Linked DNA regions of Homo sapiens: regions 1, 2, 3, 4, 5 and 6 are each linked to region 7. The links are contacts of gene promoters, found by promoter capture Hi-C in blood cells and fetal thymus (Javierre and others, 2016). All regions are on one chromosome and are shown on one strand. The core of a region is centred on a gene start or on the middle of the fragment in contact, and the rest is flanking DNA. Distances in the headings are between cores, read along the strand shown.

What was found. The method cuts DNA at HindIII sites, captures the fragments that hold promoters and counts their contacts. A CHiCAGO score of 5 or more calls a contact.
Region 1: a fragment that was not itself captured here is called in contact with the fragment with the promoter of ENOX2 in region 7 in 1 of 17 cell types (non-activated CD4 T cells); the score reaches 5.9 in non-activated CD4 T cells.
Region 2: the fragment with the promoter of STK26 here is called in contact with the fragment with the promoter of ENOX2 in region 7 in 3 of 17 cell types (total CD8 T cells, naive CD8 T cells and non-activated CD4 T cells); the score reaches 10.4 in total CD8 T cells.
Region 3: the fragment with the promoter of SMARCA1 here is called in contact with the fragment with the promoter of ENOX2 in region 7 in 4 of 17 cell types (non-activated CD4 T cells, fetal thymus, naive CD4 T cells and 1 more); the score reaches 8.0 in non-activated CD4 T cells.
Region 4: a contact is called between the fragment with the promoter of SASH3 here and the fragment with the promoter of ENOX2 in region 7, in 8 of 17 cell types (total CD8 T cells, fetal thymus, monocytes and 5 more). The highest score is 12.6, in total CD8 T cells.
Region 5: a contact is called between the fragment with the promoter of OCRL here and the fragment with the promoter of ENOX2 in region 7, in 6 of 17 cell types (M0 macrophages, naive B cells, total B cells and 3 more). The highest score is 8.4, in M0 macrophages.
Region 6: a fragment that was not itself captured here is called in contact with the fragment with the promoter of ENOX2 in region 7 in 4 of 17 cell types (total CD8 T cells, activated CD4 T cells, naive CD8 T cells and 1 more); the score reaches 7.9 in total CD8 T cells.

The regions. Positions count from the first base shown.
Region 1 is chrX:129,592,674-129,596,036 of GRCh38, forward strand. No RefSeq gene overlaps it. Among named protein-coding and RNA genes, the nearest start is that of OCRL, 54 kb to the left of the region's middle. The HindIII fragment of the contact is 729 bases long and covers 1,269-1,997 here.
Region 2 is chrX:132,021,136-132,024,577 of GRCh38, forward strand. STK26 (serine/threonine kinase 26) reads left to right here and starts at 2,167. Exons shown (of 12, transcript NM_016542.4): 1 at 2,167-2,272; 2 at 2,373-2,524. The coding sequence starts at 2,483. RefSeq lists enhancers at 1,715-2,261, 1,749-1,798, 2,249-2,408, 2,262-2,809, 2,779-2,848 and a silencer at 1,959-2,208. The HindIII fragment of the contact is 2,994 bases long and covers 209-3,202 here.
Region 3 is chrX:129,521,531-129,524,975 of GRCh38, forward strand. SMARCA1 (SNF2 related chromatin remodeling ATPase 1) reads right to left here and starts at 1,960. Exons shown (of 25, transcript NM_001282874.2): 1 at 1,667-1,960. The coding sequence starts at 1,840. The HindIII fragment of the contact is 3,805 bases long and covers 861-3,445 here.
Region 4 is chrX:129,777,902-129,781,246 of GRCh38, forward strand. It overlaps SASH3 (SAM and SH3 domain containing 3), which reads left to right and starts at 2,048. Exons shown (of 8, transcript NM_018990.4): 1 at 2,048-2,253. The coding sequence starts at 2,197. LOC124905215 (a long non-coding RNA gene) reads right to left here. Exons shown (of 2, transcript XR_007068328.1): 2 at 674-2,378. RefSeq lists enhancers at 1,799-1,958, 2,209-2,288, 2,339-2,398. The HindIII fragment of the contact is 655 bases long and covers 1,937-2,591 here.
Region 5 is chrX:129,538,430-129,541,644 of GRCh38, forward strand. OCRL (OCRL inositol polyphosphate-5-phosphatase) reads left to right here and starts at 1,830. Exons shown (of 24, transcript NM_000276.4): 1 at 1,830-2,049; 2 at 2,315-2,394. The coding sequence starts at 2,011. RefSeq lists an enhancer at 1,663-1,957 and silencers at 1,674-1,733, 1,844-2,043. The HindIII fragment of the contact is 8,325 bases long and covers 1-2,694 here.
Region 6 is chrX:129,610,085-129,613,110 of GRCh38, forward strand. No RefSeq gene overlaps it. Among named protein-coding and RNA genes, the nearest start is that of APLN, 43 kb to the right of the region's middle. The HindIII fragment of the contact is 1,006 bases long and covers 1,147-2,152 here.
Region 7 is chrX:130,901,364-130,904,800 of GRCh38, forward strand. It overlaps ENOX2 (ecto-NOX disulfide-thiol exchanger 2), which reads right to left and starts at 1,846. Exons shown (of 15, transcript NM_006375.4): 1 at 1,686-1,846; 2 at 321-368. RefSeq lists enhancers at 1,212-1,731, 1,592-1,861, 1,732-2,251, 1,872-2,061. The HindIII fragment of the contact is 1,854 bases long and covers 482-2,335 here.

The DNA.
Region 1 (3,363 bases), core at 383-2,882, 1.3 Mb before region 7:
CAGGGAAATACCATTTATAAGAATTCTTAGTATATTCACCCTCAGAGATGAGAAGAAACCATGCGTTTTCAGAGGCTAATAAAGGTGTCCTGTACTTTCAGAGGCCAGCCAAGTACCCTTATTTTAACCCTAAGGATTCAGGCAACAAAACAACTCAATTAGAGGAAAGGATGTTGATTCTTAATGCATGTAAATGTCACACTAGGTCAGATCTGTGATCCCTCCGGCCCCAGAAACAAACCCTAAGATACACATCTGGGGAGAACCCAGCTACCCCTGCTCAGTAGTCTCAGTAGTTTAGACGCGCTTCCCCAAAGAGCTTGTTTTCACATAATCCTATTTTGCAGCTTTTGAAAACCAGTTTTGAACTTTTATGACTTCTTGGGGTGATCAAGTCCATAAATTTAGTACTTTTTTGTTGTTCTAATCTGAACTGCCTAACACGTTGGGAGGAAACCGCTGATTTGAGCATGGTGCCAATGCTTCCCTGCCAATCTCCATTATGAATTTGTGGATTCTGATTCCATTCCCTTTGAGACTGAAGAAGCCTCAGCTGGAGGTTTCTTCTCTACTAAGGCCCTCTTCCAATTCCCTCCAACTGTGAGCTTGACCCTGATGAATGTGCTGACTCAGTGTTGTCATAAACAACTTTCAAAGCCCCACCCAAAGCCTTGGCAGGAGAAGGTGTTTCTTTCTGAGAGTGATTTTCCCCCCAGCAGATGGAGACTGACACCAGAAGTTTTTACATAGTAGCAGGCAATGAGAATAGCAGGCAGGTGGTCAGTCTTTCCAGAGGTTAGAGAGGAAATGGCATCCCCAGCTGTGAGGCTTCTGTTATAGGAGACCCATTAGGACCTTTCTGATTGCAGGGCAAGTTGAAGAACTGGCTCTTGGTGTAGCCTCATAATGTAAAAGCCACACATTGCAACAGTGGCATCACTAAATGTTAGGGAGAGAACCTTAGTGGTGACCTAATCCAATCTCATTGTTTGGATAGGGAAAGTCTCAGAGGGGACAATGACTGACCTAAGGTTACTTAGGTTAGTGACACTGCATGGCATAGTGGCATTTGTTTTTTCAAGCAGTTCTACTCTGCTTGCCCATTAATTCCTTTGGTGGCATCTTATCAATTTCCGTGGCTGTAAATGTCTGTAATACCCCTGATTCCAAATGTTACGTCTCCACCTCATAGCTCTCTTCCGAGTTCCTGCCCAGTATATCCAATTAGTTAGCTGGCATCTCCCCTCAGATGTCTCACAGGCATGTCAAGCTTCACACGTCCAAAGTGGAATTCTTTTACTTCTGGTTCTTTTACTACCACCCAACCTAGATCCTCTACCTGTCTTCCCTCAGCTCAGAGAATGTCAACACCATCTGCCCAGTTGCTGGGGCTAAGCATCTAGGAGTTAGCCTTGATTTCTCTCTTTCCTACCGACCGACCACCTCAGCAACGTGCCCCACGCGTCTGCTTTTCATCACCCCCACTGCCAATTTTATTGGTCAAGGCCACCACCATCATCCCTTCTTAGGGTGTCGTCATGGCCTCCTGCCTAGTCTTCTTTCTCTCTCTCTCTCTTTTTTTTCTTTTTTGAGACAGGGTCTTACTCTGTTGCCTCAGCTGGAGTGCAGTGGCATGATCGGCTCACTGCTGCAGCCTGACTTCCCAGGTTCAAGCGATGCTCCCACCTCAGCCTCCGAGTAGCTGGGACTGTAGGCGCACATTACCAAGCCTGGCTAATTAAAAAAAAAATAATTGTAGAGGTAGGGTCCCCCTGTGTTGCCCAGGCTGGTCTCAAACTCCTGGGCTCAAGCAGTCCTCCCACCTTGGCTTCACAAAGTGCTGGGATTAGAGGCATGAGCCCACCATGCCCTGCCTGGTCTTTTTAACTTTGCTGCCCTCCAATCCATTTTCCACGCAGCAGGCAGCATGACTTAATTACATCAGTCTCATCCCTCCCCTGTTGATAACCCTTCAGCGACATTTACAATGAAACCTAAGCTTCGCCATGGCCCACCAGGCCCTGCATCAATGGGTCTCAAATCTTCATGTGCAGAAGAATCACCTGGATACATTGTTAAAAAGCAGATTCCTAGGCTCCAGAAATTCTGAGTCAGTTGGTCTGAGAGGAGGCACAGGAGTCTGCATTCTAAATCAGGACCCAAGAGCATTTTGATGCAGGACCACACTTTGAGAATACCACCCTAAAGGATCTGACCTCTGCCTACCATAACCCTTCCTCACCCCTGCCAATATACTCTGATACTGTCCTTTTACTCCTCCCAGTGAGCTGAACTCTTTCCAGCCTCAGGGCCTTTGCATGTGCTGTTTACCCAGAAAACTCCTTCCTCTCTCTTTCTTGCCTCAGTCCCCATCTTTGCTGTGCCTAACCCTAAGTCACCCGCCCTGTCCCATTGACTCTCTGCCCTCATTCCTGGGCTTCCTGGTATAGCATGCTGGCTGACTGCCCCTGGGCTTGCCATGTACTCTTCCACAATCTTCCTCTTCCTCTCTTGATGACCTCACGTACCTGCTCCACGGGGCCTGGGGAGGCAGGAAGCTATAGTGGTTCTTCACATAGGCTCTAATGACCAGACTGCCTGAGTTCAAATCCCAGCTCTGCCACTTCTAGATGTGTGACCCTGATCAAAAGTTAATTGACGTCTCTGTGCCTTGGTTTCCATGTCTTTTCTCTCCAGCTTTATTGGGTATAATTGAGAAGACAAATTGTACGTATTGAAGGTGTTTCCACATCTTAAAAGTAATGATAGCACCTTTCCTCATAGTATCATCATGAGGATGAGATCAGATACTACATTTCCAGGCCTTGGAACAGTGCCTGGTGCCTAAGTGCTAAATAAATGGCAGCTAGTGCAATTATTCCCAAGCCCTCCATGGGCCTCCAGGCCCAGAACCCGCTTCTGCTGCCCTTCAGCTCCCAGCAAGTGACTGTACCCTTTACTTTGTGAAAATGTCAAAACAGCCTTGCCCCCTGCACATCAAAATGTCTTCAGCTTAACCTCATCCCTCCCCCTTTCCATCTGTCTGAGAATAAGCGGTCCTCCTCGCCAAGACCAGCTCTTCCACCTGCACTTTTGAGCCCTTCTCCTCCACCCTCTCTGGACTTTTCCCCATCAACCATCACTCCTCCTCCTACATCTCAGTATGGGTTATTCACTTGACAAGTATTTGTTGAGTGGCTCCTGTGCGCCCTGTGCTGTTCAAGGTGCTGGGGATCTAGAATTAAACCAGACAAGGTTGCCGCTCTCATGGTGCCTTCATCAAGAGGGCAGGGCAGGGATGAGGGTGGACAGACATGCAAATTAACAGTACCCAAGGTCACTACAGATCCTGACAAGTACTGT
Region 2 (3,442 bases), core at 917-3,416, 1.1 Mb after region 7:
CTGAACAATTTAAATGTTCAGTAAGGGCAATGCCTAGGGGTTTAACCTGACATCAATAAAATATATAGTGTATACATTATGCACCTAGTAACCTCAGTGGAGAATTCAAAAGAAGTTCATTCATTCATTCAACAATTATTTATTGAGGGCCTACTACATGCCATGAACCTAGTCTCTGGGGATACAGCAATGGACAAAATGTATAAAAAGCTTGCCCTCAGACTCCTGCCATCCTACCTGAATCATTCTCATGTAAGAGAGGCTGGATCTCTGCCCTCAAGGACCTAATATGGGCACACAAAACAAATGAAATATATGAAATAAGAAGAAAGAACTACAGTGTGAGCGCTGCTCACATTGGAGGAGTTTGAAGGAGGGCTTGGAGCAACTAGGAAGGGTCAATGGAGGTGAGATTTGAGACAGGTCTTAAATGATGGAGCTTGATTCAGACCCTTGCGACTTAAAAGTGTGATCTAAACATCATCACCATGTGAGAGCTTGTTAGCATTGCAGAATCTTGGGCCCAGTCCAGACATGGGAGATAAAAATCTGCGCTTTTGAGGGAGCAAAAGAACCCTCGGATTTCTATGGACATTAAAAGTTTAGGTGGCACTGCAGGTTTCCGGTCAGGCTGGCAATGTTGTGAGCTGGGTTGGTGGGAAATCGAGACTAGATTGGAGCCTAACATTAGGTTAGAAATAGTGAAGGGCTGGACTTGGGGAACTAGGAGTAAGGAAAATGCAATTGTACCTTTTATCATCATTAAACACAAACAGAAACCATAGAGAAAGTAGTAAGTTTATCACCAGTCAGAGGGACCTGCGTCTGAATTCCCAGCTGTACCACTTCTTAATTGCGTGACATTTCGGTCAAATTATTTAACCTGGTTGAGCCTTTTTCTTCATCTGTAAAATGAGGGGAAATCAATAAGACTCCAGAAGGCCCTTGTACAGGTTCAGTAAGGTATTAATAACACATAGAAAGCACTTAGCAGTCCCTGGCACAATGAAAATAATATCCATTAATAATAACGATATTGATAAGAATTATATACTATTCTCTGAAAAAGATTTAAAAGGAAGAAGAGAAACTATCTTTTACCACTAGAGGCCCCCCACCGTGTGGTGCGTAGAGACCCATAACAAATTTCAAGGTAAGGAACTTCATCTTCATTTTAAACTGGCACTCGACTATTACTTTTTTAAAAAGTAATTAACCCCTTACGTGTTCCCAAAGGTGCCTTCATAATGAAATTCCTGTTACTATTATTACCAGTGTTACTGTCGCTACTGTTAGAGTACTCTCAAAAGAGCCTGTCTCCCTCTCCTGGAGTAGAACTTAAAATGGGGCGGAGGCAGGGAGTTACCAAAACCACTGCAGTGTATGCTGATTTCAATAACCTGTACTGCTAACGATCCAATCTCATTTCCCAAGCCTCTACTATCCTCATTAATTTTTCTGCCGATGTACCATCTGTTTTCCAATTTCCCTCTGCCTTACACGTGCAGAACTTGTGGTAGAGAGAAGCCCTAGTTTGGCCGTTCTGCAAGGGATAGCCCAGGAGGTAGGGGGAACCTTAAGTTGAAGTCACCTGAAGCATGTTTGGGGTCAGGGAACTCGGAAAGCAAGAGTGTGGCCACAGATCTGCCCAGAGGCGCGACCCCCAGCTGAGGAGACCAGATGGCGGGAAAAAGCGGGGGTCCACCGACTCCGCGGCTATCTGTAATCCTACCCTTGGCCAGGCCGGGGAGCCAAGAAAGACTTCCAACACTCCCCAAGTTTCAGCTCAAGTCGTCTCCGAGGCTGCGTGTGCCCCAGCCTCGCACGCCTCCCTGCAACGTGGCCGCATCTGGGGCGCCCTCATACCCTCAGGGTTTCCCAAACTCTTCCATTCTCTTCCCAGGCCCAGCCATGTCCCAGGTCTCCGGGTCCCCGGGTTCTCCTCTCCGCGTGCCGGGAGAGTCTCCAGCTTCTCAGACTCCAGCAACCCCAGCCAAACCTCTTCGCTGCCTGGAGCCTTGGCTCCCGCGACACCGCCCGGCTGCGGGGCGGGGGCAGGGCCAACGGCGGAACCGCCCCCAACCGCCTCCCAGGCCAGGCGAGCAGGCGGGTGGCTGGGGCGCCTCCACCTCCTCTTCCTAAAGCGGCGAGGCGCAGAGGAGCGGCATCACTCGAGCCCAGGTCCCAGCCACCACCACTCACAGCGCTCGGCGTTCAGGAAGAGGAGCAGCAGCGGAGGCGGCTGCTTCAGCGGCGGGCGGGCGCCAGAAAGGTAGACTGAGTCCCAGGGAGCTGCGCCGCTAACAGCCCACCTCCTAGCCCCGGGCTACGCGCCGCCAGCCCAGTAACCCCACTTTTGTGTGTCCTCCCAGGCCCCGATCGAAAAGCCTGGGAGGGCCGCCGAACTACCCCCGGAGGGAGGAGCCAGTCCGAACCCAAGGCGCCACCGCCGCAGAAGCGGAGCGAGGCAGCATTCGCCTCCATGGCCCACTCGCCGGTGGCTGTCCAAGTGCCTGGGATGCAGGTGAGGAAGCGCAGGCCGCCCCCGCCGCCCACGTGACTGCTTGGGAGCCCGGTGCGCCCTCGGTGCTGGGCACCGGCGACAAGGGACGGCCCCAGGGCTCCCCTGAGGGCAGGGCCGGTCACTATGGCCAGGTGACCTGGGAGTAGGGCTGGAGGTGTTTCCTGGTGTGTAGGCTAGGTAGTGCTCTTCGCTGGGAAGGCGAGGCGGGACTGGAGCGCGCAACTAGGTGGAGATTGAGGGCGGTTGGGGGTATAAAAATAGGCCAGAGCCACAGACACCTGCGCCTGCTGAGCTTGGCACGGTTGGGGATGGGGGGGCGGAACTTAACCTGGGAGAGATGGAAGTGCCTTGGAATTTGTGGGGTATAACGCGAGTAGTGAGTGCCCTACACCCCCCACCCCAAACACACACTCAAGTTGGGGCGGGGCAACACCAGGGGTGGCGGCGGCGGCGGCTTGAATTGGGCTCTTCCTGTGTGCGTAGGGCTAAGAGAGAGGTGACCTCTTTCTCCCTTTCGGTACTGCTGCTTAAGGGCAAAGTTGTAGCTTGCTCCCCGACCTAGCCCAGCCCATAGTGTGGCGTGAGAAATGCTGGTTCTGTTCAGAGTCACTGAGGTGATGACTTCTCAGCCCCCTCCGTGCCTTTCCCACAAGATGACTGTTACATGTGGTTAAAGGAAGCTTTTTGTCTTGGACAAGGGACTACTGCATGGGACCCAACTTGTTACTCGAAGTCTACCCAGCCCAACCCCCTCCCATTATATTTTCATTTTATTAAAGATAAGCTATGTCAGAAAACTTTTTATGCTGTTATGTTTTTAAATCGGTGCATTTTAGGCTATCTGCTAAGTGTTATCCAAATTTACTAACTTTTTAAAGCATTCATGTTCTATTTTTTTTTCCTTTGCTAGATGGCCTA
Region 3 (3,445 bases), core at 710-3,209, 1.4 Mb before region 7:
CTCAGTGTTTATATTATATAGCTTTTTTATTGGTCTCCCGTTTTTTCACAATACAAAATTTTATACAAAATTCAAAAATTTATACAATCTGGAAATTCGACAACCTCTCCTGCCATACAAAAGGCAGTTTGGCACTCACATTTGCCCAGTCCAGGGAATAAAAGGCACACAGACATTTCCGAATTTCACAACATTTGATTTATATTGATGCTTGGTATTACACCCACTTTTAACCAACAATATTGTCTTACTAATCCAAGTACCGCGTAGATCTTACAATGTGTATGTTTTCTACGGTTTTCATTTAGCACTACAATTGTCCTTCTGTTTAGTCAACCTTGTAATAGTAAAATATGTCACAGAAGCAACTGCTAAATTTAAAATTACTCTTCTCATTTAAGGCGAAAGGTGTTCATTTTCCTCAAAAGCTTTTCATTTGGTCGTATAGTATCATATAATGATTCAGACAAAGCCACTTGAGATCTCTAAAGCATAATTACCCACCTTTTTAAAATTGCGATATGACTACTCGTAAATAGGAAAAAATCCACACATAAACCATTAGTTATGCAATTTTATCATACATCAAAAATGCTTATGCCCCATCCTATTTTTATGTCAATTTTTCAACGTTTTATAGTTTTATTTGCATGTCTCGGGCCACACGAAATGTGCCTTATGGAGATAATACATATTTTCTGGATTGGCTTTAATATGTGTCAGAGCAGTTCCCTTACGTTAGAAGCAGCTCATCTTGGCGACGCTGAGTTTTTTAAAAATTAAAGGAGAAAAAAAAAAAAAACCTGTGTGTGTCCAGGAGCCAGCAGCGCCCACTAGGAGAGGGAGGCGGAAGCCTGGAAAGCTTGGGGCCGGATTGAGGGACCATTGGGGTGGCCCTGGAGTGAAACCCTATACCGTCGGGGGCGGGGCAGAAGAGGGTGAGGGTGCAGATGTTGGAAATTTTCCTAAGCCAGCGTCCACGGTTCCTCAGTTTGGGGGGGCGGGGGGGTACGACGCAGAGAGCTCCTTTCCTCGGGGTGACACCCCCACCTCGGCAGGCGGGGTTCAAACGAACAAGGGATGGTTTTTTTCCTGCCATCCAAAAGACCGACATTGCCAATGAAAGAAAGAAATGTCTTCCCTGTCACCCTCCACCCAGCAACCACCAGCACCTTGAAATTCAAATTACAAAAAAAGCCCCAGCAAAACCCCTTTAGCGCGAGTGTGGGATTGAAGGGCCCAGATTTCCCAGGCAGAGGCCGACGGGAAGGCGGGGGGAGAGGGAGCGAGCGAGAGGAGAGGGAGAGGCGGAGGCTTTTTCCTGCACAGCCCCATCCCCCACCCCGTTACCCGAGTTCCGGGAAGGTGGAGGGGGTCGGGGGCTGTCGAGGGGCTCCCGAGCCCCCAGGCCCCGGGAGAGCGGGCACCCCTCCACCCCGCGCCGCTCCCGCCCGCGCCCAGCCCCGCCCCCGTCCTCCAGGCGGCGAGAAGGAAAGGGGGAGGGGAGCGAACGCCAGGCGGTTCCGCCGCCGACCCCCGCACCCGCCGCCCCTAGCCCCGCAAAGCTCCGCGGGTACCTGTCGGCGCCGAAAGGTCAGGGTTTGGGCCCCTCAGAGGGGCCAGGCACAGGATTTGTCCACCACACACACACCCCCTTCCTATTTACCTCCTTCTTCTTCTCGCCCTTCTCCGTGGCCGCGGTGGCTTCGGTGGCCGCGGCGGCCGCTCCCTCCTCCTGAGAGGTGGACGGCCCGGGCTGCTCGTCCTCTATGACCACGATAGTGGCGGTCGCATCCGCGGCTGCCACGGTGGCTGCCACTGCGGCAGTGTCCTGCTCCATGCCGTGGGAGCGGGAACGAGTAGGGGGACAAGGCAGGGGACGAGGGCTCCTGGGCGGCGGCAGTGGCTGCACTGGAAAGAGCTAGATGGAGCAGGGGTGGGGAATCACTCCGCTTCCAACCCCTTCGCTCAGGCCCCCCCTTCTTTAAATAACCCTCAACCCTGCCCCACTTCCGTCCACCCACCCTACGTCATGGCCTCCCCCCGTCACTCTCCCCCCTTCCTCCACCCCCCCCCCCTCAACGATCGCGAGACTCCCCTTCCCCACCCAGAGCCCGGGCCGGCCCCGCACGACCAACTGTTGCCTGAGTGTGGGGCGCGGACAGGGGTGGAGGCGGGAACCCACAACTCGCGGCCCCCTGAAAATCTCCTTTCCCACACGCCCCCAACAGTGAGCCTGAGCTCCCCTCGCAGATGCGTGCAGAACGAATCCTCTTTCCCTTAAATCTGCTCTTTGTACCTCGGGGCGCTCTCCCCTTCTTGCACAAAGAACTTTTCCTCTGCTCCTAACTGTACTGTAGAAGGTCTTTTTCACCATTTGCAAAGCGCGGAACCCCTCTGGGACTGCCCTTTCCCGGATCCCTAAAGAGGTAGGATTAGCGGTGCTGTTTCCACCTTCCTAAATTCTGCACAAAGAGAAGCACTCCTTGAATCTCTTGATTGCAGCTGCAAACACATTCACTTACAAGGCAAAGTCTGACTCTCAAGTTTTACGTATATTTGCTCTATTTTCACCTCTGGTACCTCTCAGGTAGCCAATGTGCAGGAACACTTCTCTTACCTTCACCACTGCATTTTTAAATTCCTAGGGGACAAGGTTACCCACCGAACCTGGGGCAACATGTGGTAGGCACTCAATATTAGCAATTGAAATGAATTACTGTGATTTTTTGGCACAGGTTCTATTTGCACCTCCATTATTATTTGGTAATAATACAACACATAATATGAATGATCATGGATATAAAATCATTTCGTGATACAGAATCAATCAGTGTCCATCAGCAGGTGAATGGTTAAGGAAAATGTGGTCTGTATACACAATGGAATACTATGTAGCCATAAAAAAGAATGAAATGTCATTTGCAGCAACATAAATGAAACTGATGTTTATTATGTTGCACAAAATAAGCCAGGCACAGAAAGACAAATAACACATGTTCTCACTCATATGTGGGAGCTAAAAAGTTGATCTCATGGAGGTAGAGAGTAGAATGATAGGTACCAGAAGTCTGGGAAGGGTGTGTGGGGTTGAGGCGGATCAATGAAGAGAGGTCAGTTAATGAGTACAAATATACAGTTAGATGGAAGGAATAAGTTATAATGTTCAAAGTAGAGTAGGGTGACTCTACTGAACAAACAATGCAATGTATATTTCGAAATAGCTAGAAGAGAGGACATGAAATGTTCCCAACACATAGAAATGATAAATACTTGAGGCAATGGACACCCTAAATACCCTGTCTTGAGAAGGACCCTTAAGGACAGCAACAGTGGAGGATTTATTTTTCACCATGTTGCAGCTATTGAAAGATAGAATTCCTCTTTCCTTGCATGGGGCTGCAAAGGAGAAAAGCTCAAGAAATATTTGTTGTGTATTGGTGTG
Region 4 (3,345 bases), core at 798-3,297, 1.1 Mb before region 7:
ATCGGAGAGGAAGTCACGAGAACATCTTGGGAACAGGGGTGGACAAGCCTAGTATTTCACAAGTACCACAGAATTGAAAGCCTTAAAAATGTGCATACCTTTGACCCCAGCAATTCCTCTTCTGGATATTTCCCCTACAGAAAAAAAACTATGGATGTGAATATTTACCATAAGTATGTTCAATGAATAATTTAAAAATTTAAGCCAACCCAAGTTCATCAGCAAGGGCTTGGTGAAATAAGCACGGCACATCCACACAATGGGATGTTCCACAGCCGTTATAAATTACGTAGTTGAAGACTATTTCATAGCATGAGACAATCTTGATACTGTGTTCAGCTGGACGTAGTGGCTCACGCCTGTAATCCCAGCACTTTGGGAGGATGAGGCAAAGAGGTCACTTGAGACCAGGAGTTCAAGACCAGCCTGGGCAACATGGTGAAACCCTGTCTCTACAAAAAATACAAAAATTAACCAGGGTGGTGGTACGCACCTATAGTCCCAGCTACTTGGGAGGCAGAGGCACAAGAATTGCTTGAACTCAGGAGGTGGAGGTTGCAGTGAGCCGAGATCACGCCACTGCACTCCAGCCTGGGAGACAGAGTGAGAGACTCCATCTCGAAAAAAAAACAAAAAAGATACTGTGTTTAGTGTGAAAAGCAGACACCAATAGTGTGAATTATGACCTTTTTTAATTAAAAAATTTTAAACAGCTTTATTGAGGTATAATGGAGCTACAATAAACTGCACATATTTGAAGTATACAATTTGATACGTTTTGACATGTGTATTCCCCCATGAAATCATCACCACAGTCAAGATAGTGAACATATTCATCACTCCTAAAAGCTTCCTGTTACCCTGTGTGATGTCTCCCTTCCCTTCTCTCCCCTCCCCTTCTCCCCAAACCAATTATCTGTTTTCTGAGCAGTATGATTTTTGTAAAAAGAAAAAAAATGTTTATAGACAGAGAGTAGATAGATGCTTAAAACAGTGTAGAGGACAATGATGGGAAATTTTGAAATTTTTTTTGTTTATGTGTTTGTGAAATTGTATGACAAATACAAGTTGCTTTTGTAATACCAAGAAGTTATTAAAGTTATTAAAATCTGCCACAGACAACCCACAAATTGAATATACTGCATAGGTGTTTGATAAATGCCTGTTGGATACTTGCTAGAGGTGTGGAGTTGGCTGTAAGTGCTTTTCAGCTGTGGTGGTGATAAATATACTCATGATGGCTGAGGGGTACTGACTGGAGGGGTGACTGCTCTAGTGATGATGGCTTTAGGTGTACTGATGGCTGTAGGAGTGATGGCTGCAGGGCTGATGGCTGCACGGATGTGATGATGGTTGTAGGAGAGATGACTGTAGGGACGATGGTTATAGGGGTGAGAGGGTCATGAGTGCGGTTGGCTGTAATGTCCAGAAGGGTGACAGCTGTAAGGATGATGGCTGGAAGGGTGATAGCAGCAATGGTGATGACTGTAGAGGTGATGGCTGAAGGATGTCAACTGTAGAGGTGATTACCATAGTGACAATGGCTATAGGTGTGCTGATGGCAGCGGGGATGGCTGCAGGCCTGATGGCTGTAGGGGTGATGGCTGTATGGTGATGGCTATTGATAGGAGTGATGGTAGCAGTGGTGATGGTCACAGGGGTGATGGTAGTGGTAGTGATGGCAGTGACGACCTTGAAGACGTGAGTTGACCGGGAGCATTGATCCAACAGGCAGCCAGATGGTCCAACTTCTGGTTTCTGGATTCTGGTCAGTGAGATAAAGGGCTTGGGTACGCCATATAATGTCGAGCTGATTGTCCACCTCTAGGAAGATGGAGCAGAAGGACTGATGATGATCGACATGAGACAACAAGGTAGGGACTTTCTCTGACTGTTCAACCCAAGAGCCGTCTGCATCAGAATCTCTGGAGACTGAAGCTTGGACTTCCTTCCTCCCTAGGGGCCGGCAGGGGCTGCGATTGCTGTAAGAGTAGGTCACGTGGCAGGGCTTCCTGTATGCTGCTGCTGCCGGGTGTCCATGGCCCGCACCCCCAAGCTGCCACTGCAGCAGTCAGAGTGGCAGCTGAAGGCTCGGTTCATGCCGTGCCCCCGGGCAGTTCTGGTGAGGCTAAGCAAGAGGCCTCTGCATCTTGACACCTAGGAGAGCAGGGACGGAGTCTCCCAGGGTGGAGGACCATGCTGCGCCGCAAGCCCTCCAATGCCAGTGAGAAGGAGCCCACTCAGAAGAAAAAGGTGAGGAGCATTTTGGGAACTCACATCTTCCTTTCCTCTGCTTGCTCGACCCATCCCTTCCAAGACTCTTGGAAGTGGGAAGAGCCAAAGGCCATATGTTGAGTCTGTAGGTGAGGGCCACTCACCTAGAAGGCAACGGGACAGGGACCCAAAGGTTAACAGAAGTACAGAAGAGATGTTTAAAATTCTGGAGCAACAGAGTTACAGAATAGATCCTTAGAAATCTAGAGTCATGCAATTCAACCCTAGAAGAATGGGAAAAAAGATCTAAAATTAGGGGCCAGAATCTTAGACTAGAATTTGAGAATAACAAAATACAATGCTTAAGCTGAACCCTAAGCTTGTACTTAACTATCTCTCCTCTACGCTGGTCCTGCTGCCACTTCTGCCCCGGCCACGGCCTCTCAGGAGCCATCTCACTCAAAGGGCCCTGCTGGGCTGCCCAGCTTGGAGCCATGATGCTCACAGGACTGCCACCCCCTCCTCCACTTTGGCCATGGCCCAGACCCTGCCCACTTGGCTCAGCTCTGTGGTAGCTCCCAGGCCCTACCCGAGATGGAGCCAACCTGGAGATGGGGGCCTGAGGCCATTCCAGTCTTGGGGGAAAAGGCATCCGGAAGTGCAGTGGGATGCAGGGGGCATACAGGTTCTTCCTGGGTGGGGAATGAGAAATTAAGTTGAGGTGGTGAGTAGGAGTGAAGGCTGAGGAGGGAGGATTTTAAAGGCCAGGAGGAAAAACAGCTGTCATGGATGGCTGAGGTGTTCATCCCCCTGGGGCAGAGACCGGACTGGAAGAATCCTTGAAGGCTGTGCCAGATCTAGGATTTTGTGGTTGAATTTGAGGATTTCCAGATTTCTTTGGTTGGGTTTGAGGATTTCTAGACCTAATTCTTTAATTCAATTGAAGGATTCTCCCAGACAATCAGCAAGTATATCCTACACATCCAATGGGATGCTAGGACAGTCCCAAAGCAGGCCTGAACTAGGTCCAAGAGGCCCAGGCTATCCCCCGCCAATTTTCCCTGGAACTCAGCCCAGGTGCCCTATGGTGGATCCCCCTTGTCAGGGGAGTAGCTCAGAGATGGAGGCCAA
Region 5 (3,215 bases), core at 580-3,079, 1.4 Mb before region 7:
AGGGAAGAGGGATAGGGAACATGTATGTGTGGTGATGGAGAAGGGGATTGTTGAATTACAATTTTCAATAAAGTGGTCTAGGAAGGCTTCAGTGAGAAAGTGACATTTGAGCAAAGACCTGAAGGAGGTGAGAGTGCATGCAGAGTGAACAGCAAGTGTAAAGGCCCTGAGGTAAGAGTGTGCCTGGCAAGTCCTAGCAACAACAAGGAGTCAGTGTGACTAAGCAAAGCTAGTTAGGGAGAGTGGTGGGAAATGGTGGGAGATGTCCGAAAGGTGATGACAGCTTGTCTTTTTTTTTTTTTTTTTTTTTTGAGACAAGGTCTTGCTCTGTCACCCAGGCTGGAGTGCAGTGGCGCCATCACAGCTCACTGTAGATGTGACCTCGCTGGCTCAAGGGGATGCTCCCACCTCAGCCTCCTGAGTAGCTGGGACTGCAAGCACTTGCCACCACATCCAGCTAATTTTTATAGTTTTTGTAGAGACAGGGTTTTGCCACGTTTCCCAGGCTGGTCTTGAACTCCTGGGCTCAAGTGATCCTACCACCTCGGCCTCCCAAAGTGCTGGGATTACAGGCATGAGCCACTGTGCAGGCCAGTTTGTCTTTTAACTTGTTTATATTGTCTTAAAGTACATACATTTTGAAATTTCATGTAGCTAAATGTCTTATTCTCATTCCATATTCCAAGCTCATACTCAATTTTTTTTTCTGAAAGTTATAAAGTTTTGCTTTTCACATTTAGATCTTTAATCCACCTGGAACTGATTTTTCTTCCATGGTTTGAGGTAGGGGTCTAATTTTTATAATTTTCCATATGGATAAGCAGTAGTCCTAGTACCACTTAGTGGATAATCCATTCTTTCCCCACTGATTTGAAATGTCCCACACGCTGCATATCAACCTTCCGTATATGTGTGGTCTGTTTGAGGGGTTTATATTGTGTTTCATTGATTGTCTATCTCCACAGCATACTTTTAATTACTACAGATTTACAGTCACTCTTGATATCTAGTGTATTATAGATTCTGGAGCAAATGAATAACACGATCGAAAAATTACTTTGGGAAAAATATTTTTATGGCTGTCAACAGAGTAAACATGTCAAAGGAAAGAGTAAACCCAACAGGATTTATTTAAAGAAAAGTGCAATAACCCAGATAGGCTATCACAAGGGCTTACAATAAAGTTATGGCAGTGTGAATGGAGAGAAAATAAGGAATCTAAAAGTAATTCCACGTAAAATATTAACAGGGTGTGTTGACTGATTGGATATAGAGATGAGGAGGGGGAAGACGATATATGGCTTTCCAGTGAAATGATAATGAGTTAGTTTTGTGACGCAGTGATGTGTTAACAATGGACTCTATTAGGTAAGAGGTCTGGGCCAGGGATATATATTTGGACATTGTCTAGTTAGAGGTGAACTGGAGGGGACGCAGAGGAGGAGCAAAGGTCTGGGCTTTGGGGAATTCTCCGATTTAGGGCGTGGAAGAAAGAAGAGGAAAGGAAATGGTAGGATAACCAACACGGGACATTATAACCTTAAGAAATATATATATATATATATATGTATTTTTTTACTGAATGATGTGGGTCGTATTGACACAACAGGTTTGAGATCTCCCATAGGTATGACTGTGTTTTGTTTCTGTGGCCTTCAAAGTCCTCAGAACAATTTTGATGTCACAGGTGGCATTTAAAACCCATTCCTTGCTGGACCTGGTAGAGACGCCCCCAGTCCGTCAGGTCTCTCGCTGCAGTTCCGCAGTTTGACCGCAGGGGACGGAATCTGCGGCGGCCTGGAAAACTGGCGGGGGCGCGAGGCGCCGCTCTCTCTTGGGTCAGATTCTCAGCTCCCAGCTCCCCGCTCCCGGCTCCCGGCGCCCGGCGCCCGGCGCGGAGCTGTTCCTCAAACGACACGCAGCCGAGGTGGGTGGGTGTGGGGACGCGGGAGCCAGTGTCGTCGGATCGGCCCGCAGTCCGCTGTCCTGCTGAGCCCGGAGGCCGCCTGGATGGAGCCGCCGCTCCCGGTCGGAGCCCAGCCGCTTGCCGTATCCGCCGGAGAGAAGGGAGAGGGGAGGCCGCGCAGGGCCGGGGGTGGGGGTCGGGGGCCCTGCGGAACACGGTGGGGCGGGGCAACCGGGTGGCCCAGAGGCCGAGCAGAGAGGGGGAGGGGGCCGGCGCGGGAGACGAAGCAGGGCGGGGCGGGGCGGGGGAGGGCGGCGGTGGGGGGGGGGTGGAAGACCCCCTTCGCCCCGCAGTGCACCACTCCTCCCCACCGCGCTTCCGAAGGAGACCCTTGACTAGCGCCCGCATACTGTCGAGGGTATGGAGATGAAGGGTCCTCTCCGGGAGCCCTGCGCCCTGACCCTAGCCCAGAGGAACGGGCAATATGAGTAAGTAACCACCTGATTCCCACAGAGGAGGGGAGCCTGCCATTACCTCCCAACCCCAAACCGCGACGGGTCACCCACTGTCCTCCTACTGAAGCCACGCGGGCAACAGGTTCAGGTCCAGGTGTGAAGTGCCAGTGCTCTCTAACCTCGGGGCTTTGTCCCCAACTTCCAAGCCTCTGGATTGTGCTTGGCAGTGTGGCTCAGTGGAAGGACTGAATGGGCGGGGAAGCAGGAAGCCTGGGTTCTTAGTTCCTGCCCCTGCAACTGACATGTGTTGTGTAACGTTGGGCAAGTCAATAAAGCTTTCTGGGCCAAAGTTAACTCTTCAGTTTAATAAAACCATTAACTGCCTTACCTTACAGCCTTTGGAATTATAACTGGGGGAAAAATAAATGCGAGAGTGGCTTCCAAAAAGTAAAAGTGCTATGGAAATGCTTCATTGTTAACGTTACAGACTTGTCTTAACCCTATTCAGCTGGTTTCTCCAGTCTCCCCGTCCCCTTATCCCACTGGGTTGAAGGCATATTCATTAATTCAGTAATGGTTTAGTGTAGGCCAGAAACTGCCTCACTTACTGACTTTACTGTTAGAAAGAAAAGGTAATGAAATGTGTAGAGATAGAAATGACAGTATTTTATCAGTGTGTCACCTTCCTCTCTGCCATAGGAGCTCCGTAAATACTGTTGACTGATTGATCAAAAGATTATTTTGATAAGCTATCACCATAGCTGCTAACCTCACTCTATTGTCACTAATATCTTATCTCAAAAATATCCATGGTGACCATTACGTATCATAGGCCCCTATCCCTGTGTGCCCAA
Region 6 (3,026 bases), core at 400-2,899, 1.3 Mb before region 7:
ACTCCTGCTGAAATTCAAACCTCTTCACAGGCAGTCGAGGGAGAACTCTGGGCCAAGCTGTGCGGTCTACCTCCTACTTTGTGACCCAGGGTGGCCCTGAGGCCCTGGGCCTGTCCCTCTAGCCCTCCCCTGATAAATCAGTCCCTAACATGTGCCTCTTGGTTGTCAGTGGATAAATGCATGACTCCTTCCAGGGAACTGGTGTGCATTTCAGTGGGGGCTTTCTAGAAACAATACCTTACCTCCCAGAGTTTCCCAAGAGCAGCTGGAGCTCTTGTTTTCTTACTTGAAACCTCAGTGGATTCCTCCAGCAGTTTAAATCTTCATCGTTTGCTGAATCCCAGGACCCAGGAAGCACAGTTTGCACCTGTCTTAATACCCAGGACTCACTGGGGCCACCTTCAGCCTTGGAGACAAGATGGGCCAGAGGGAGAACAGCTGGTGGCCCACATCTGCTTTTGCTTTTGTTTGGACAAAGATGATGTGCCATGTCCTTTTCTCTGTCACTGTGCATTGGTCAGAATATGTGGAGTTATGCTGCAATAACACAGAAACCCTGAAATCTCAGGGGTTTAACACAAGAAAGGCTTATTTCTGGTTCTCACAAAAGTCTAGTGCAGGTTGGATGACACGTAGTAAGGCCAACCTGAAACATGTGGCCTCCTAGAACTCCACAGCAGGGGGAAAGACAGATGGAGAAGTAAATAGTCTTAGTCAGCATGGGCTGTCATAACAAACTAGCATAGACTGGGTAGCTTAAAGAAGAGGAATTCATTTCTCACAGTTCCACAGCTGGAAAGCCCACAGTCAAGACACTGGCAGATTCAGTGTCAGGTAAGGGCACTCTTTCTGGCTTGCAGATGGCTGACTTCTCGCTGTGTCTTCCCATGGCTGAGAGAGAGCTAGCTCTCTGGTATCTCCTCTTACGAAGGCACTAATCCTATTGGATCAGGGCCCCATACTCATTTAACCTTAATTACTTCCTAACACCAAATACAGCCACACTGGCGGTCTAGTGTTTCAATATATGGATAAGGGGGACACAATTCAGCCCATAACAGCACACCAACTCTTAACTGTCTTGGCCCAGAAATGATGCACATTAAGTTCACTGACTCTCTTGGTCAGAATTAGTCACGTGGCCCAAGCTTAATTGCAAGAAAGGCTGAGAAATGTAGGGGAGCAAATATTTGCTGAGCGCAATCTGTGCCACACACTGTCTTCTAGGCTGAGCCTTGAGGAAGAAGGAAAGTCTCGAAAGTCAGAACAGTGGCTCGGATGTAAAGTGTAAGGAAACACACACCTGGGACTGTCTGCCAGGCAGGTTCAAGGAACCAAGACCAGGAACCTGGTTCTGAATAGAATTCTTGGGGGAAGAGGGGGGAGGAGGGAACTTGTCCCTGTGTTTGGTATATTTCGAGGTTTACTATGTCTTCTGCCCAGGATGTGAACACAAATCCTTCATCACAGATATATCAATAGACACTCAGGAAATTCAGATGAATTAGGCAGAGATCAGAGTTTTTATTCTGTTTTTAAAAATCAACATATTGAATGTTTCCCCCAAAACTACGTGTTTTATTTTATTTATTTATTTATTTTGAGACAGAGTCTCACTCTGTCACCCAGGCTGGAGCACAGTGGCGCAATCTCGGCTCACTGCAAGCTCCGCCTCCCGGGTTCACGCCATTCTCCTGCCTCAGCCTCTCAAGTAGCTGGGACTACAGGCGCCCGCCACCATGCCCTGCTAATTTTATGTATTTTTAGTAGAGACGGGGTTTCACCGTGTTAGCCAGGATGGTCTCAATCTCCTGACCTTGTGATCCGCCCGCCTCAGCATCCCAAAATGCTGGGATTACAGGCGTGAGCCACTGTGCCCGGCCAACGTGTTTTTTTTTTTTTTTAACAATCATTTTCCACTACATAGCAATAGGAAGAGGGTTAACACAATTATGTCAAATAGGAATCTTCAGGAGCGAGCTTTAGTGAATAGATAAGCCTGATATGCAAGCAGCACAGCCATGGTTGATTTCTAACTTGCTGGTGGGTCTGTTTTTTTAAACAGAAGATCCTGGGTTCCTTTGGTGGGTACTGGGAGGCAGTGTATCAAACCCACTGTCTCATAGCCCAACCGCTATATGAACTAGTTCAAAGCTTGAATTGGTGAAGTCCAAAAAAGAGAAGCTTTGCTTTTCCAACATGTTCAGAACTGTGATGGGAAAATGGTTGACTAAGTGCCACATCTTTCCTCTGCTCGAATAGAATGTAGATCATTGAGCCATGTGTAGTGACAAGGTGTTTTTGGGAAAGGTCTCAATGCTATGAATTGTTATTGTGCTCATGACCCTCCCTTAAGATGGCGTAAACGCCCTGGCATGATCAGCCCACACCTGCCTCTTTAACCTTATCTCTCTGCCTAATCCCATAGGGACACCAGCCTCCATTCTGGTCCAAGAGGCCCCAAGTCCTTTGCTGCCCTGGGGCTTTTGTGCTGGCTGTTCTCTCTGCCTGGAATGTTCTTCCTCCAGATTTTTGTGGGCTGCTTCCTTTTCATCTTTCAGGCTCAGCTCAAAAGCCACTAGCTCATAGAGGTCTGACAACCCATATAAAGTCAAAGTATCTCCCCTGGTACCCCAGAAACACATATACTGTTTGTCATCACCCAGTTTATTTCTTTGTTAATAAATATCACAGTCATCCCCTATCTTGTTCATCAATTACTTACTTCTGAATGTCTTCGGAGAAATTTCTTAGGGCTGAGCCTACTAGACTGTGAGTTTCCCAAGGGAAAATAGGGACTGAGGTCTCTATAGCCTTTGTCTCCTGCAAGGTAGGGAAGAGGCAGTGATGACTCATGTTTAAGAATACTTGAGTTCTGGCTGGGCATGGTGGCTCATGCCTGTAATCCCAGCACTTTGGGAGGCCGAGGCAGGTGGATTGCTTGAGGTCAGGAGTTCAAGACCAGCCTGGCCAACACGGTGAAATCTTGTCTCTACTAAAAATACAAAAATTAGCCAGGCATGGTG
Region 7 (3,437 bases), core at 596-3,095:
TTTAGTGTTTTCTTCTAGAAAAAGAAACAGGAATAATAGTACCTACTTCATAACACTCAAGATAATGCAACAAAGTATTTATGATGATGACTAGGACATTATGTGGGTTCAATAAATAGCAGTCATTATTGTCACCCAATGAGATGACTACAGTTCAGATAATGTGATGCACGGGGACAGCAAATGCATTTCTTAAGAAAATATATCGATGTCTCTAGGCTTTAAAGTTGACAGCTATAGACTGTAGCTAAGAATAGCTACAAACAAAACATCTGCAAGACAAGCTTCTTCTTGGATTTAAACTCACACCTGGAACATACCATCACACTTCTTTGTGTTCTCCAAGAATTGATCTCAAATCAGGTTCCCTAGGATGAAAAGAAAAATCATCCAATCTTAATTTTTGCCTTCAATTTTATTTGATACAGAATAATATCCAAACTATGTGTATGTTTCAAAGTATCATGTTATTATGACCCCAAGCTTCTCCACCCTATTTATTTCCCAGTATATTTGTGCTGATATCTTTTATTCCAATCAGGCAAGCCCACCTGTCTCACAGTGCTCCCTCTTCTGTTTACCCTTCTCAAAGTCCAATCTCAGTAGCAGGAAGCATTTTCTCCCTCCTCTTTGACAACTTCAAATCCCCTGTACTCTGCTGGAGCCCAGATTAAAATTCACCTCCTTCACAAAGCCTGAAAGCCGGATGAGGGCTTCAGCACTTCCCGGGTTAGGCTTGAACTTCCATAGATGAACTCACCACCCCCATCAGTATGCTCTTCCACTGACCCCTCTTAGCGTTTTTTGCACACGTTTGTAATAATACAATGATTAATATGGTCTGTTTCACACGGTCTACTTTATTCTGTAGAATAAAGGTGTGCCCCCTAAATGTTTGTCAACATTAGTGCTATCAGTCTTTGCTGGAAACCCCTAAAGCGCTGGATTTTTATAACCAGTCTAACTTGCCTTTTACTCTCACCAGAACCCTGCACTGAACCTTAAACACACATTTCTCAAAAGCAAGATTCCTTCCCTCTTTTGCTTCCCATCCCTTCTAGAAATTGAGGGGAAACTCTCCCCACTTCAAAGACCTGGTGGGGGAAGTGGCAGGTGGCTGAGGGGCCAGTAAAGAGATGGCGATCAATTAAGGAGGCAAAAAGAGAAAGTTTGAAAAAAAAAAGTCACGCCCTGAGCGTGGCAAGGAATTCCCATGCCCCAAAGAAAATGGGGAGTGTAGCGCAGGGAGGGTTATGTGCCCAAACCTGAAATACAAATTGAGGGAAAAGAGGAAAGAGATCACCCAATTCCTGCGGTAAGAATTAGAGTCCAGTCACCGCCTAGGCAAAACCCTGGACGCAAACCCCAACTTCGGACCTCTGAGGAGGCACAGAGCCAGGGGGAGGGGGGCGGCGTCGTGGGAAAAAAAAAAAGGGGCGGGCGAGTTGGACCAAAAAAAAAAAAAAAAAAGAGCAAAGACAGCGCGCTCCCGGGCTCAAGAGAACTGGCGCCTAGAGCTCAAAAGCCCACCCCCGACTCCCAGTCCCGATACCCCCTCCCCTGCAGAGGTGGAGCTGGGTGGAGTTAGGCGCTGAGGACCGCGGCCCCGGAAGCACCCTCCTCCCTAGGCCCCCTCAGTCCCACAGTCCCCAGCCACGGCCACCGGGGCTTTCTGCCTCTCTGACCTCCAGCTCCCCGGCTACCGAAGCGCTAGTCCTTATACAGCCGCGGAAAATCGGGCCGGCGCGGCAGTTCCTGGGCTCGTAGTGCCCTCGCGGCGCCCCACGCCGCGCCACTCTCTTCCGAAATGCCCGCCTCGCGCTTCCAGGCCTAGACCCGGCACTCTGGCCCAAGGCTGGACTCTCACACACAGGGTGCCCACTGCGGCGTCTCCTATTGGCTACTGGTCACCGGGGAAGCCGGAGGCCCGAGCCCATGGCTTCATGGGAAATGTAGTTTGAGGTCGCTGGAGGCTGTTCTTCCTGGGGGTAACTCGTGTTGACATTGGCAGACAGACACAAGTGAGGACCGAGAATTATGGGAGATGGAGTTGCGGGACACTTATTTCTCTATACGCACAATTCTTCCCCTCCCCTTCCGATTGTCCCCAGCGTTCAGACGGGGAAGGGTATTCTGGGTATTGTAGTTTGGGTGCACTGTCTAGAGAATCTCTCTTGGGGTTATGGGTTTGTGCTTGTGGGGACAGACGAAGGCTCTAGATTTATTTTCATGTCGGTTAAGCTCTTAGCATTTTGCGGGAAGCACTTTCTATCGTGATTTGAAATTGTTATTGAGTTTTAAGTGTTTTTCAAAAGATGATGTTTATTCTTTGGTAAGCTTAGAATTTTAATTGAGAGTTATAGTCCTTTAAAATTGTTAAAGTGTGTTCCTTGTGAACCACCTGCATTAAAATCACTTGAAAGGTATGGAAGAATGTATATATTTTTTTCTAATTGGAAATTATAGTTCCCCCTGGAAACAGTGTCATAAATAGGCATAGAAATGTGATCTACACCAGCCCAGAAGAAGCCTATTTAATCCATAATGAAGCTATGTTGTTGCCATGAAAAACAGTGGCCACATAAACTGCTATAAATAACAATTTAGAACAGATAGACAATACAACTTAAGTACAAACGAGTAACTATATGTGTCTTTAAGAAACTTAACCTTTTGAGTAAAAATATGTTACAAGAGCTGGATAAAGACATAGGTGGGGAATGCCAAGCACTTCCAAGTGACTTAAAGGTTGAGGAAAATGGTTGTTTATTAGGGCTAATTTCACTCCCAACTTTTGACCTTTTTTTTTCTCTGTTAGAGATGAATCCTTGTAGCCTTGTTACAGTTGAATTACTACAACTTCTTGATGAGGACAACTTTTCGACTCACGAGTAAAATGAAGGGAAAGACAGGGGAATTGCATTTTGCTGAGGTAATTGCCCAATATTTTAAAAAGATAAGTGAAGGAGGAAGACGATTTAATAAATTCAACCATTTATTCAGCATAGTGCTTTGTGCAAAGCTCTGGGCTAGGCACTGTTGCCACAGAATTGGAAAAATAGTCCCTACCCTCAAGTAGCTCAAAATCCAGGTGAGGGGAGTTGTAGTAGAGGAGAATCTGGGGGGAGGAATAGATGAGTATACAATGTGCAAAATGCTGTAAAGAAGTCTACATAGGGTTCTATAGGAACATAGAGGAGGAAGAACTTGTTCTACTTCTGGAGAACTGGTTGAAGAACCAGTAAAATATTTGTCAGATTTGGGGCAGGGAGGTCAACCATATTCTATACAAAGCATATGCAAAGGCATAAAGGCATGAAAGAGTGCAGAGAACAATAGCAAAAGTTCCATATTGCAGAGACTAGATCAGGCAGCAACAAGGGGTCATATCAATTAGTTCATAATTTAACTTGAAAGTGGGAGAGAACCATCAGAGG